Linked DNA regions of Homo sapiens: region 2 is linked to region 1. Evidence: promoter capture Hi-C in 16 types of primary human blood cells and fetal thymus (Javierre and others, 2016). All regions are on one chromosome and are shown on one strand. The core of a region is centred on a gene start or on the middle of the fragment in contact, and the rest is flanking DNA. Distances in the headings are between cores, read along the strand shown.

Region 1 (6,599 bases), core at 1-2,500:
CAGCACGCTAAAGGGCACCCACTGTCCTTAACAGAGAAAAATACACTGCTGAGCAGAGGATTAAACAGACTCCTCACACTACCGGAAGTTCAGTGCATTTTCCAGGATTTTCAAGTCTTCGATGCTGTCATGTTGAGAGTCCACTATCCACGTTTGTTTATCCAGGAATAATGCAGAAAATCTGAGCATTCGTGAATCTAATCATTGAGGTAAAGTAACCTAGTCATGGTCAAGAGGACAGCTAGTGTTAAACTCCTTCATATAAATTTAAGGAAGGATTTACATATTCATAATGACTTTCTGATCTGGAAAGCCCAGGCTTGTCAGTTATTAATAATTGGATGAATACTTCAGGTAGTATTTAAACAAATAGCGATTTCATAGCAGACATTTCCCCAACCAGGAGATGCAGTAAAGTATTGGTAGCAATAGATGCTCCTACCAAGATCTCCTCCTGCCACTGCCACTCTGTGCACAGGAAAGGAGGGGAGAAGAAGCCATGTTGCTTCTCTTATATTTGAGCATCATTTAAGGGAATATAAGTCTCTAATGACTCACATGTAAGTCTGCTGGGTAAGAAAGTTCTAATGTTGGAACTCCTTTCAGCTATCGAATTTTGTAAGAAAAAAAACTTATTTGTGTTTATATACATTTATGAGATACAAGTGTAATTTCGTTACATGGATATATGCCATATTGGTGAAGTCAGAGATTTCAGTGTGCACATCACCCGAAAAATGTTAACTGTACCCATTAAAGTAATTTCTCATCCCCCATTTCCCCTCACCACATGCTCCAGCCCTTGCCAGGAAACTGTTCATTTTCTCTGACTAACAGAAACGAAAGCTAAAAACACTGGTGGGAGGAGTCTCCACATTGTTTCCTACTCCATTTTCTCTGGGGCAATAGCAGAATAGGAGCAAGCCAGCACTAGTCAGCTAACTAAGTGACTCAACCAAGGCCTTTTTTCCTTGTTATCTTTGCAGATACTTCATTTTCTTAGCGTTTCTGGAGATTACAACATCCTGCGGTTCCGTTTCTGGGAACTTTACTGATTTATCTCCCCCCTCACACAAATAAGCATTGATTCCTGCATTTCTGAAGATCTCAAGATCTGGACTACTGTTGAAAAAATTTCCAGTGAGGTGAGTACTGTTCCTGATTTTGTAAATATGATCTTGTTCCTTCCTTGAAGTCCCCAGAATCACAAGGGGACAATCAGTATTGGTTATTCAGGGTCATGGGATGATGGGAGTAGGGCTGAGTATTCAGAAAAGTGAAAACTGAGTTGCTTGATATGAATCCTTCATTTACTTAGGAAGATAACAGGCATCTTCTATTCCACCACAACTGAGGACTGAACAAGAGAAAATGCATTTTGACCGTTGCAGATTTTAAAATTAATTATCCGAGTGTATACTGGCATAAGTTGGTACTTAGAAGAGGGCTTCTGTTATTTTGGCTGGAAGAAGTGTTGGAAACTCGGTAGCTGTGGTGGGTTCTCAAGATAGTGACATGAAAAAAGTATCATGAAAGAATATTAAGTAAAAAACATATCTGAGCATAGAGATGTATTATATGACATCATCCCAATTTTACAAAACATAAGAACAAATGTACACAGAGTAGAAAATTTTTTTCAGTTTCACAAACACAGTTACTCAAGCACATGGTGTCTTAATATTTTCATAAGTATATTGATCCTTTACTTTAGCTCCATTCTGCACCGGGTGCTAGCGGCAGAATTTCAATCATTTTGGAATTACTCTCTGCCCTCCTGAAAGTTAATGATTTTTTTTTTCCTTGTGGCAAGGTATAGGGGAGTGGAGGGGAAGGCAGTTAGGAAAAGGTTACTATTGTTTACTTTTCAAATTTTTAAAAGATGTTTTCTATAGCCTGGTACAATATTTCATGTGTGCTTAAATGGAATGTGAGATTCTTAAATGTTGTTTTCAGAATTTTATTAGATAAATGTTGTTAATTACGTTGTTCAAATTTATTATATCATTACAGATTTTTTCACCTTGTTCATTTAGTAATTGAAGCATAAACTGAAATCTCCTATTATAAAGTTTGCTTTTTTGGCCGGGCACAGAGGTTCATGCCTGTAATCCCAGTACTTTGGGGGAGACCAAGGCGAGCGGATCACTTGACGTCAGGAGTTCCAGACCAGCCTGGCCAGCATGGCGAAACCCTGTCTCTATTAAAAATACAATAATTAGCCGGGTATGGTCATGTGTGCCTGTAATCCCAGCTACTCAGGAGACTGAGGCAGGAGAATCGCTTGAACCAGGAGGCAGAGGTTGCAGTGAGCCGAGACTGTGCCACTACACTCCAGCCTGGGTGACAGAGCAAGGCTCTGTCTCAAAAAAAAAAAAAAATTTTTTTTCTTTGTAGTGCTCTCACAATCACATACATGTTATGTGTATATATAATATACATTCACACACAAATATATGTATATATAATCATGTATACAAACAGGTACACACATATATGTGTGTAGTGATGTCTGTACATGTGTGTATATGAAGAGAAATATATACTAATTATAGTACCATGAAGCACTATAAAATAATAAATAATATCATTAGATAAATTAGATAAATTCATAACTAAAACATAATTTTCTAGGAGTTGAAACTTTTATCATGTGGTATCTGAAGTTACTTTTGGGCTTAAGGTATATTTAAAATTACACAAACATAGATAAACTGGCTTTCTTTAGTTATTCCTTGCAAGATAATTTTTAACAATTTTTTTCACCTTTTGTTAACAATATATATGTAGATTTCTTAAATCAAATTTGATGAAAGTTGTCACTTAACAGGTCAGACCTTTTAGGTATATGCTGGTAATTAACAATCTGCTGTCTTTACTTCAATTTATGACACTTCTATATCATCTCACTATCTAAGACAATTGCTTTAGTGAATTGTCATGTTCTTTTTCTTCCCTCCCTTTACCATGCTGTTGTAATTTCTGTTTCTCTTATATTTGATCAGGGTTTTCTTTGTAAGACATTAGGAACACCTAAAAAAGTTTATTTTTCACTCTTCTTATCTTTTGGCTGGCAGAATTTTTAATTTTATTCATGTTTTCCTATTAAATATTATTTTCAATAGATGTTTTCTTGTGGTATGAGTCTTTGTCTTGCAAAAAGACTGAGGCCCTGAGTATCACAAAATAGTTTTTGAGACTCTTCTATTTAAATATCATTTTGCCTAAATTAAAACTCTAAAATGTAAAATTATATTTTCCCTTAAGACAAGATGAAAGCACCTCTTCTGTGCTGTGGAGCTAGATACATTTTGAAGTTAAGAATCTGGAGGCTTCAGAAAGGCTATTTAGTGTATATATTCTAAATAGTGTCTTACTAGAAACTCCATTGGGATATAAATAATTACTCCAAAATCAAAAGCACTAATATTGCAAAACAAAACATGTGAGTGTTCACATTTCAGTGAAATAAAGATTATACATAGCCTACTGTCATCCCAAATCTGGTTTTATTTTGCAAATAAATTGTGCTGTCACACTTGTTGGAAACAAGTGCTCAGTGCCACAAAGAAAAACCAGCACTTAAACAGGAAATTTCTCAGCAAAGCATATTTGCTTCTACAGAAGGGTGCTGCCTGCGTCAGTCACAATGCACATTCTAAGCTGACCGGATTGGCTACTGCTTTAAATTCTATAGGGGTAATTAGGCGGGAAGGAAGACACTGTCCTGTACCAATTAGGCGGGAAGGCATGTCTGGGGCGGCAAAGGAAGGAAGGGTTGTTTACAGAACAGGAAAGAACAGGAAAGTTTGAAGACGAACTTATTGTTTCTAGCACACTCACAAAATAAGTCAAAACTTTCCATTGAAAATTTTTTTTGGTTTTGCAATTGATATGGAACTTTGGACCAACATTATATAAAAATAACTCCATTGTCCTGCTTCAGGCAGTTTTGATATAGAGATTCACTTTCAATTTGATTCTTGAATCTTTGTAGGTGATCTATTCCTCATTACCGAAGGCTTACAGAGTATTTTTGTTCATTATATTCTTCAGTTTCACTATAATGTGTTTTTGTATAGATTTTCCCTTCATTCTCTGGACCTTTTCAGTCCAAGGATCCTCATGTTCTCGTAAGAAGGAAGCTTTTTTTTTTTTTTTTTTTTTTTTTTGACGGAGTCTCACTCTGTCACCCAGGCTGGAGTGTAGTGGCACGATCTCCGCTCACTGCAACCTCCGTCTCCTGGGTTCAAGCAATTCTCCTGCCTCAGCCTCCCGAGTAGCTGGGACTGCAAGCGCTTGCCACCACACCTGGCTAATTTTTGGTATTTTTAGTGGAAACGAGGTCTCACTGTGTTAGCCAGGATGCTTTTGATCTCCGGAACTTGTGATTCGACCACCTCGGCCTCCCAACATGCTGGAATTACAGGCGTGAGCCACTGCGCCTGGCCCAATTAATAGCCCCTGAAATTTAGATATCTTGGTTATACACAAAGACATCATTCCTAAAATTAAAAAATTCATTAATTTAAAAGTTTTGGAATCCATACCTTGCACTGTCATCATGGAAGTGTACAGGTGTTAAGAGGTCAAGAGCAGTGACACTCTGTCCATAGGGAGACTCTGAAATCTACCATGAGACAAAGCCTCAGTTGAGTCTTAAGGTTGTATGGGAAGTAGTCAAAGAAAGAAATGTGGGAATGGCTTTCCAGGCAGTAAGAAGGAACTAGCAAAGTCATGAGGCATGAAGACACAAGGTGTCCGGCATCTTTGTGAAGCATAGATACAAGGAGTACAAAGGTACTAGAAGTAAAAAAGATGCAGCTTATTCAACACTTTCTGAGACAGTATAGGAAGCAAGGAATTTTGGGGAAGAAAAAGGAGAAATATTGAAGGATTTCAGTGGAATATAAATGTGGCTTATCGAGAGAAAACTGATTGTGCGAAAAGAAATAATTAGACAAATCAAGTCTGAAAGAAGAAAAATAAAACAACCAATAAAATCATTTCAGTGAATAAATACTGTGATGCTGCACTAGAAAGCATGCAGATTTTCAGCAAAGTTATGGTTTTATGGGTACAGAGAACAGAAGCCATGGTCTAGCACCAAAGAAGGGAGGATGCTAATGAAAGCCAACTAGGGAAGAGTCAAGGAGAATAGGGTCAGTGCCACAGCATGAAACTGTAGCGCTGTAGCAGAAAGTTATTCATATAAGGTGGGAGGCTGCAGCCCATTTACACCTAGGCCGCTCCAGTCATACTGGGTGTGGGAAGATTTAAGAAACAACAGGCAGGATTTGGGGAATAGGCTTCAGCCCCAGTAAAGGATAAGAAGAGGAACCAAGGGCTTTGACACTGCAGAGCTCATACTCTTAACACTGAGGCAATTGCTTGTTCTCAGACCTCCCTCTAACAACTGGACCCAACTCAACTATTCTCATTCAATGGGAATAATTTCTTAGACATTCCTAACCCAGCAGTTCTTCACTCAATTTCTACAGTAACACATTTGGTCGTTGAGTCCTTCTTTATCACACATATTCATGAACAACTCTTTCATATGGGCCACTCACTCACATAGGCATACATCTTTTAAATTGTCTGTATACATGTGTAACACTGTATATACCATTTTCTCTTGTAGGCTCACTTATGTCTGTAAAGATGGGAAAAAAATACAAGAACATTGTTCTACTAAAAGGATTAGAGGTCATCAATGATTATCATTTTAGAATGGTTAAGTCCTTACTGAGCAACGATTTAAAACTTAATTTAAAAATGAGAGAAGAGTATGACAAAATTCAGATTGCTGACTTGATGGAAGAAAAGTTCCGAGGTGATGCTGGTTTGGGCAAACTAATAAAAATTTTCGAAGATATACCAACGCTTGAAGACCTGGCTGAAACTCTTAAAAAAGAAAAGTTAAAAGGTAATTGGGAAGAGGGAACACCCACTCCCTGCAACCATCCCCAAACCCTCCCCAACATTGATTAGAGCCCCACCTCGGACATACTTGAGATGTGTTTTCCCCAGTTTGTGACTCAACAGCTGAGACAATGTTGGTACTTCAGAGGCCAACAAGTTGACAACTTAGTGCATTCCATTACTGGTGTAGATTGAAGTATTTCAGAATGTATATTTGGGATCAGTGAAAGAACAAAAGTGAGAGGGAGTTGAAGGGGGACTGAGACTTCCAGTACATTAGAAAGATTATATAATAATAAAATCATAAAAACTGTTTAAATTCAAGATATGTACATTTAGCCAATGAATGTATCTGTTCTATTGAGACCATTTAACCCATCACTACCCTTTATAATTTAAAAAAATGCAATACTTACATGTGAGCCTGCCTCTCAGAAGTGTGATCTCCTCTCTTGTTATATCAAGTTAAAAAAAAGGATTTGAAAAAGTCTAAGTCCAAAATCAGTATATCCTTCCTCATGGAAACCTTTGGCTGGTTTCTATAATTTGAATATCTTTACCTGGGGAATGTGACCTAGCAGTCTCCATCATGAAAACATTAGTTTTTAAAACAAAATGATCGGAGAACCGCATTGGGAAAGGGTTAACTGAAGCACATGGAGTTCAGAGAACAG
Region 2 (6,599 bases), core at 2,101-4,600, 1.2 Mb before region 1:
GGGGAGGGCAACAAGTCCCAAAGCTGACTTGTTCATCCTCAGGGAGTTCCACATCCTCCAGAAACTGGCTGAGAGTGGCTCTACCTGCAGAGGTGCCCAATAGAATCATGCTGACCCCCAGAGGGTATAGAGGAGAACTGCAGTGGAGGGACAGTGGTAGGGGGCAGGGAGAAGGGTAGGTTGTGAACGAGAAGTTCTTAGGCAGAGCAAATAAATAGGAGCACAAAGATTTAACTCAGAGCAAGATGTACAGGACTGAATAATGTTTTTTCACAAGAATTTCAGTGAAAAATATCTTTACCAGAGCAACAGCAAAAACTAAAAGCAAATGGTATTCAAAGCTTTGCAAGGGCAAAGTCCCAGGTGGTGAGTGCAGTGTATGGGTGGGGCTGAAAAGAGGAAATGGGGTGGAAGACTGCATTGAGGCAATGGATGGGGACAGAAAGACCTTTTCAGCTGCTCTGCTGAATAGCATTTTCAAACCTTGCAGGGGATTGTAATTCTCAACAGGCCAGAAACTTTTCCCCAGAGCCAAGACTGGGGTTCAGAGGCCAAGTGACTGCCCAGCCTACATAGCAGGTATATAGCAAAGCCATGATTTCAATTTGGTCTTTCTGGCTATATAAGTCCTGCTCTTTCCAGTACATCATGCTGAACTAAGTTCTCTCTTACTCTTTTTAAAAAGAAAAGATCTCAAACTTCTGAAGAACATCTCAGTTTTCTGAGAAACTCTTGCTAAAGGAAAAGAAAGAGAATGAAGTGGCTGTTGCCCTGTTCTCTGAATGGTCGTAGGTGATTCACTTCAGGGAGCCTGCTGTCTTGGCATGATTCCACTAATGGTCAGAAACCTCCTGAATATTGATCGAGGTTTCCTCTAATTTCCATCCAGACAGACAGTGGAGTGATGGGTATCACAGGGTGGGACTCCTGGACCTTATGTGGGACAGAATGAATGCAAGAGACCAGACTTGCTCCTGAGCAAGTTCCAGGTAGGACCCCTGAATGTCTCCCTGGACACTCTTGTTCCATTCAAGGTGACAGCAGGATCTGCTTTTCCCACACTGTTCCTTAGAGCCCAAAGAGCCCCTTCCACTTGGTAGCCAGCATTCAATGGGCAAGGGAACAAGTCTCCCTTTCTTTAGATTTTGTCTTGGCTCATGTGAAGATTCTGTATATAGAATAAAATATTTTTCCCATTGACTTCCTTCACTGAGCACAGATTTAACTCAGAAAGAGTGAAATAAAATTAGCTTTATTTCACTCTTTATGATTAGAACAGTAATACATGCATTTTTAAAAAATCAAAACTAAATACTAAATCTAGAGCACGGGTTGGCAAATTATGGCCTGTGAGCTGGCCAACACTGTTTTGGTAAATAAAATGTTATTGGAACACAGCCATCCTCATTCGTTTACATATGGTCTATGGTTGTTTTCCTGCTACCACAGCAATGGCATTGAGTAGTTACGGCACACACCTGAAAAGCTTAGCCTATTTACTCTCTTGCCTTTTACAGGAAAAGCTTGCTGATTCCTGAGCTAGAGCTAGAGAAGCAATGAGGACACATGTTTATTCTGACCCTGCAGAAGTTTGTAGTTCTGACACATTCCTCTATAAATAGCTGTTTTCAGAGCTGTAAAAACATTCAGCATTCAGCCAGACAATAAAGAGGCATTACAGTCCTATGGGCAGGAAAACAATTCTCTCCAAATTGTTCTTTTCTTCAATCTGCATGTTATTGCCCTTCTTAAAGCCAGGCTTTTAAGGAAGAGGCAAGCATGTGGGGTCTTGAGAAGGCTAGGTGGTACCTGGTCACCCAGACATGCAAGTGGTGTTGGAAACAGGCTGCGTGACCTCAGAACATGTCAGCCTAGAGGGCAGTAATATTAGGACATCTTCACAGGCTTTCCAGAGCCACCTCTATAGAATCCTGGGGTAGTGGGGTGACTGATATGCCAGAGACCAAGAACAACAAAGACAAGGAGGACTCACCTGCCTGTTCAGTGACTGCATCTGTGAGGAGATCAAAAGCCAGAGATTAGCACACAGCATTTGCCCTCATAATTTATAAATTTATATTACTCTGGTAAATTGCTCAAAAACTTCTTTCCATTTTCCCTTTCTTTTCTATTTCCCTAATCTCTTATTACTAACAATTCAATCTCCCTCGAGCACACATCTAACTGTCATTCATTGTAGTCAAAAGGCAAGTTGCAAACCCAATGCTTGACTAAAGGGATTGTCGAGAATACCCATGTTGGATATTTAGTGACTCTCCTTGATTTCATTTTCCTTCCACCATCCCCACCACTCTATCTCACACTCTGACTTTTCAAGTGGTAGATAGACATGACAACACGATCACAAAGGGCTCATCAGGAAACATACATTGTGAGAGTTCCAAGAAATCAACAAATCAGTCTCTTTCCTATGGCCATATTTCACGTTAGAGCCCTTTGTATTCCAATAACAAATATTTATTTAGTGCCTACACAGCATAGAGAAAGGGATCTTATTTACTCTCTCACCCAGGCTGGAGTACAATGGTGCGATCTTGGCTCACCACAACCTCCACCTCCCGGGTTCAAGCAATTCTCCTGCCTCAGCTTCCCGAGTAGCTGGAATTACAGGTGCCCACCACCACGCCTGGCTAATTTTTGTATTTTTAGTAGAGATGAGGTTTCACCATGTTGGCCGGGGTGGTCTCGAACTCTGACCTCAAGTGATCCACCAGCCTTGGACTCCCAAAGTGCTAGGATTACAGGTATGAGCCACTGCACTCACCCAGGAATCTTATTTTCTAGCAGCAGCTGTCATCTCCCTCATTGTCCACGATTAAACAGAGGAATATTAGCAAAGGGTCTCAATGCATCTGCTGAACCCAAATCTTATAGATAACAATTGAATAATCGGTGTTCATGGAGGAGAAGGGCATTGCTAAATGCTAATATTATGAACATTTTACTATGAGAACATTATATTACTCAATGAGATCTAAGATATCAAAATAGCAATTCATGACCAGCAAATGGAAAAGTGGTCCACCTTGAACATTAAGCATTGTGCTTAATGCTTAATGGATGTGCTGCAAATTCACTGTCCTCAGCCTACTTCTTTGCATCTGCCTTTGAAGCCCAAGCTGCAGGCAGGACCTGAGCATCCCCACCAGTCCCTGGGCTCCAATAAAACCTCCAACCTTTTGGGAGCAGTAGACCTCATTCAGCTGCCACCTCACTTCTCAGTCAAATTATTGAACTCACCAAAGATGACCAGCAATGACCACAGCAGCATGAGGACCTAATCCAGCTATTTGAAAAGAGATGTACTCTTGGTCACCAACTGGAGACTCTGAGCAGGCGATGAAATGTGGTTTTCAGAATAGGTTTTGTATAATTAGCAAAAAAGGAAGTAGAATAGTGCCACTATGTTTAACCATTATCTTTGTCCTGGAAGGGCTAAAACAATTATAGCTGATCCTCTCAATGCCAGAGAAATTTTGTAACTTGACCCTCATTATGATACCTAGCATTTACATATGGGTTGCAATGAGTCAGACACAGTTCTAAGTGCCTCATGCTTACAGAGTTATTTATTACCTTCAGCAAGTTTCTGAATTGGCACTATCCCCTTTCACATGAATAAGGAAATTGAGGCACTAGTAAAGGTAAGTGTCTTAGTCCATTGGGGCTGCTATAAAGAATACCTTAGACTGAGAAATTTATAAACAACATAAATTTATCACTCATAGTTCAAGAGGCTGGGAAGTTTAAGATCAAGGCACCAGTAGATTCAGTGTCTGATGAGGGCCTGTTTCTCATAGATGGTGTCCTCTATGTGTCTTCACATGATGGAAGGAGCAAACAAGCTCCCTCAAGCCTCTTTTACAAGGAGACTAATCCTTTTCATAAGAGTTCCACACTCATGACCCCTAAAAGGTCATGTAATAAAAGGTGGGTACCTTTTATTACTATTGCATTGAGGATTAAGTATCAACATAAGAATTTTGCCAGGACACAAACATTCAGATGATAGCAGCCAGTAAAATGACCAAGATCAGCTTAATCAATTTCTAGTAGTAACAGATCTGGGATTCAAACCCAGGCAGCCCAGTGTCACAGTCTGGCTCTTAAACATTGTGCCCTATTATCTTGATATATTGCTTCTCAAGGTTCATAAAATAATAAGGCCATTGTTTCAATAGCTCATATTTCTTAAGTAAAATTTTTCGTAGTCATTCGATGACTTTCTAGAATGAGATTTTACTAAACTTCAAAACACTTGCACTATATTGCTGAAAACATTGCCATCTTTCTAATCTGTAATCACAACATTGCCTATTTCTAATCTGCATTGCTTTTTGTACCCCAGGCTGATCCTAATACAGTTATCTCACACAAAGCAAAGCGCGTGTTATGTGAACACCTATTATCATGCTCACTTTGATTAGATGTAGTCCCAGTAGATGTTGTCTCATCAGTGAACCTTATGCAGGATGAAACTCTAAACCAAAAAATCACAGGTGCTTATAAATGAGGGACTGACTGAAAATATTCATAGACTCAATGTTACCTGTTCAGGTACTTAACATTTACCTGAATACTTAACATTGAATTTTTAACAATTGGATACTTAACATTTTATTCTCACTATTATCATAGTTTTACTTTGAGAAAGGCTAATATTTATATGTGATGGTCATTAAAGCCTTGCTTATAATAATGTAAAAAGAAAATACTAAAAATATATCACAAGGAGAGATGTGTGTTAAAAATAAGTTATGTGTCAAATGCTGTGGAAAACCAAACAGCCATTAAAATAATTCTGTGGAATAATATTTAATAGCAAGATAAGATGTCTAGGATATATGATTAAGAAAAAAGTGGGCTGGGTGCGGTGGCTCACGCCTGTAATCTCAGCACTTTGGGAGGCTGAGGCGGGCGGATCACGAGGTCAGGAGATCAAGACCATCCTGGCTAACACGGTGAAACCCCATCTCAACTAAAAATACAAAAAATTAGCCGGGCGTGGTGGCAGGTGCCTGTAGTCCCAGCTGTTTGGGAGGCTGAGGCAGGAGAATGGTACAAACCCGGGAGGCAGAGCTTGCAGTGAGCCGAGATCGTGCCACTGCACTCCAGCTTGGGTGACAGAGCAAGACTCCGTCTCAAAAAAAAAAAAGAAAAGAAAAGAAAAGAAAAAAGTGGCTGCAGAGTGCACTTTATCTGCTGCACATTATCCCCTGCTCTCCAATAAAAAGTGTCTGAGACAATTCGCACCACAGAGTTACTGTAATTATATCCAAAAAATCTAATTAAAGCTGATTTTTATTTTCCTTATTTTGCTTATCTGTGTATTCTAGTATTCTTACAATAAACATATGCTATTTACGTACTTTTTAAAGATTCATTATAAGAAACTAGGTTTTATGGCCTCTCTCATCTTAAAGTGTTGAAAACAATACTACTTTAACTTTCTGCATAGGCAAACGGTTTGTATGTGTTTGAAAGTGTAAGTTACTCTTTCCCAGGACCAAAGCTAGTCACTGATCATCAAATCTTGCCTACTGAATGGGTTTCTAGGTGGCCTATAATTCCTTCCCATTCTGACCAACCTGGAAGCTATAGAAATTTTGTGGATGGGAGGGAATTAAGGAAAGGAGTACAAATAGGATCATGAAAAAGTTGATGGTAAATTGATGGTAGGTACAAGTTTTTCATAGACATCAAGGAGATTTTTCAAAATAATCCATATCCCTTCACTGATTTCTATATACCCTCTATGGAAATGTGGCCTCTTCAGTTAAGAATCAATATTTCTTAAGGTGTTACCAAATGATATGAGGTAAAATTCACAGTTGGTATAAAAGGTGCAGGTGGAAAGCAGCAGTAATGAGGTGTGTGGGCCACAGAGGTGGCAACAAATCCTCTAAGATGGCTAACATGTTTCATGTGGGTGCTACTCTGTATTTGACAGACGGCAGTAATTTACAAGTGAATAGGCATATCCTGGAAGCGTAGCTAAACTTGAATGCACAGTAGGCACTGTGACCAGAGATTAAGAGGCTTAATAGACACTTGGTGGGGGGTGGGGAAAGTAACTTAAAAATTAAGGCAATAGTGGCAGAAATAAAATTATGTTTGTAGGTTTGATCAAAGTGAGAGATAATACTTTTTGTGCAAGGATATTTTGCCACCAACAGGATGGAGTCACAGGTATCAGAAAGAACCAGCATTAGACATACATATAAATGCCTCTTGGATCAACCAGGTAAACCCTTAACATGGAGATTCCACAGGTGGTAACATACTGAAGCCTATTTTGCCAGATGCAGAGCAAGAGTCATCTCTGTGAACCGTGTTCAATGTCTTGAATGGAATACAAAATACAGTGCCAAGTTGGGGCATGCCAGAACTGAGACAGAGACAAATAGAGTCTTCATAAAATATGTCAGAATAAAACAAATCACACTTCCTGCTTGATGAATTTGATTACTAGGACAGTTAGAGTGGGAAAATAAGAAAATGAAACAGGCTAACTTCCAAGATCCCTAGATATAATCTTTTGAGCTTGGGGTTCCAAGGTCACTATGAGAGAATTAAAT

Evidence for each region. The method cuts DNA at HindIII sites, captures the fragments that hold promoters and counts their contacts. A CHiCAGO score of 5 or more calls a contact.
Region 2: the fragment with the promoter of FCRL2 here is called in contact with a fragment that was not itself captured in region 1 in 1 of 17 cell types (total B cells); the score reaches 6.6 in total B cells.

What each region holds. Positions count from the first base shown.
Region 1 is chr1:159,009,017-159,015,615 of GRCh38, forward strand. IFI16 (interferon gamma inducible protein 16) reads left to right here and starts at 891. Exons shown (of 12, transcript NM_001376587.1): 1 at 891-1,145; 2 at 5,645-5,929. The coding sequence starts at 5,665. It overlaps LOC124904432 (a long non-coding RNA gene), which reads right to left and starts at 5,034. Exons shown (of 2, transcript XR_007066671.1): 1 at 4,551-5,034; 2 at 3,491-4,464. RefSeq lists enhancers at 748-827, 6,001-6,599 and a silencer at 3,600-3,709. The HindIII fragment of the contact is 5,786 bases long and covers 1-4,143 here.
Region 2 is chr1:157,773,782-157,780,380 of GRCh38, forward strand. FCRL2 (Fc receptor like 2) reads right to left here and starts at 3,351. Exons shown (of 12, transcript NM_030764.4): 1 at 3,262-3,351; 2 at 1,994-2,014. The coding sequence starts at 3,292. The HindIII fragment of the contact is 5,936 bases long and covers 1,522-6,599 here.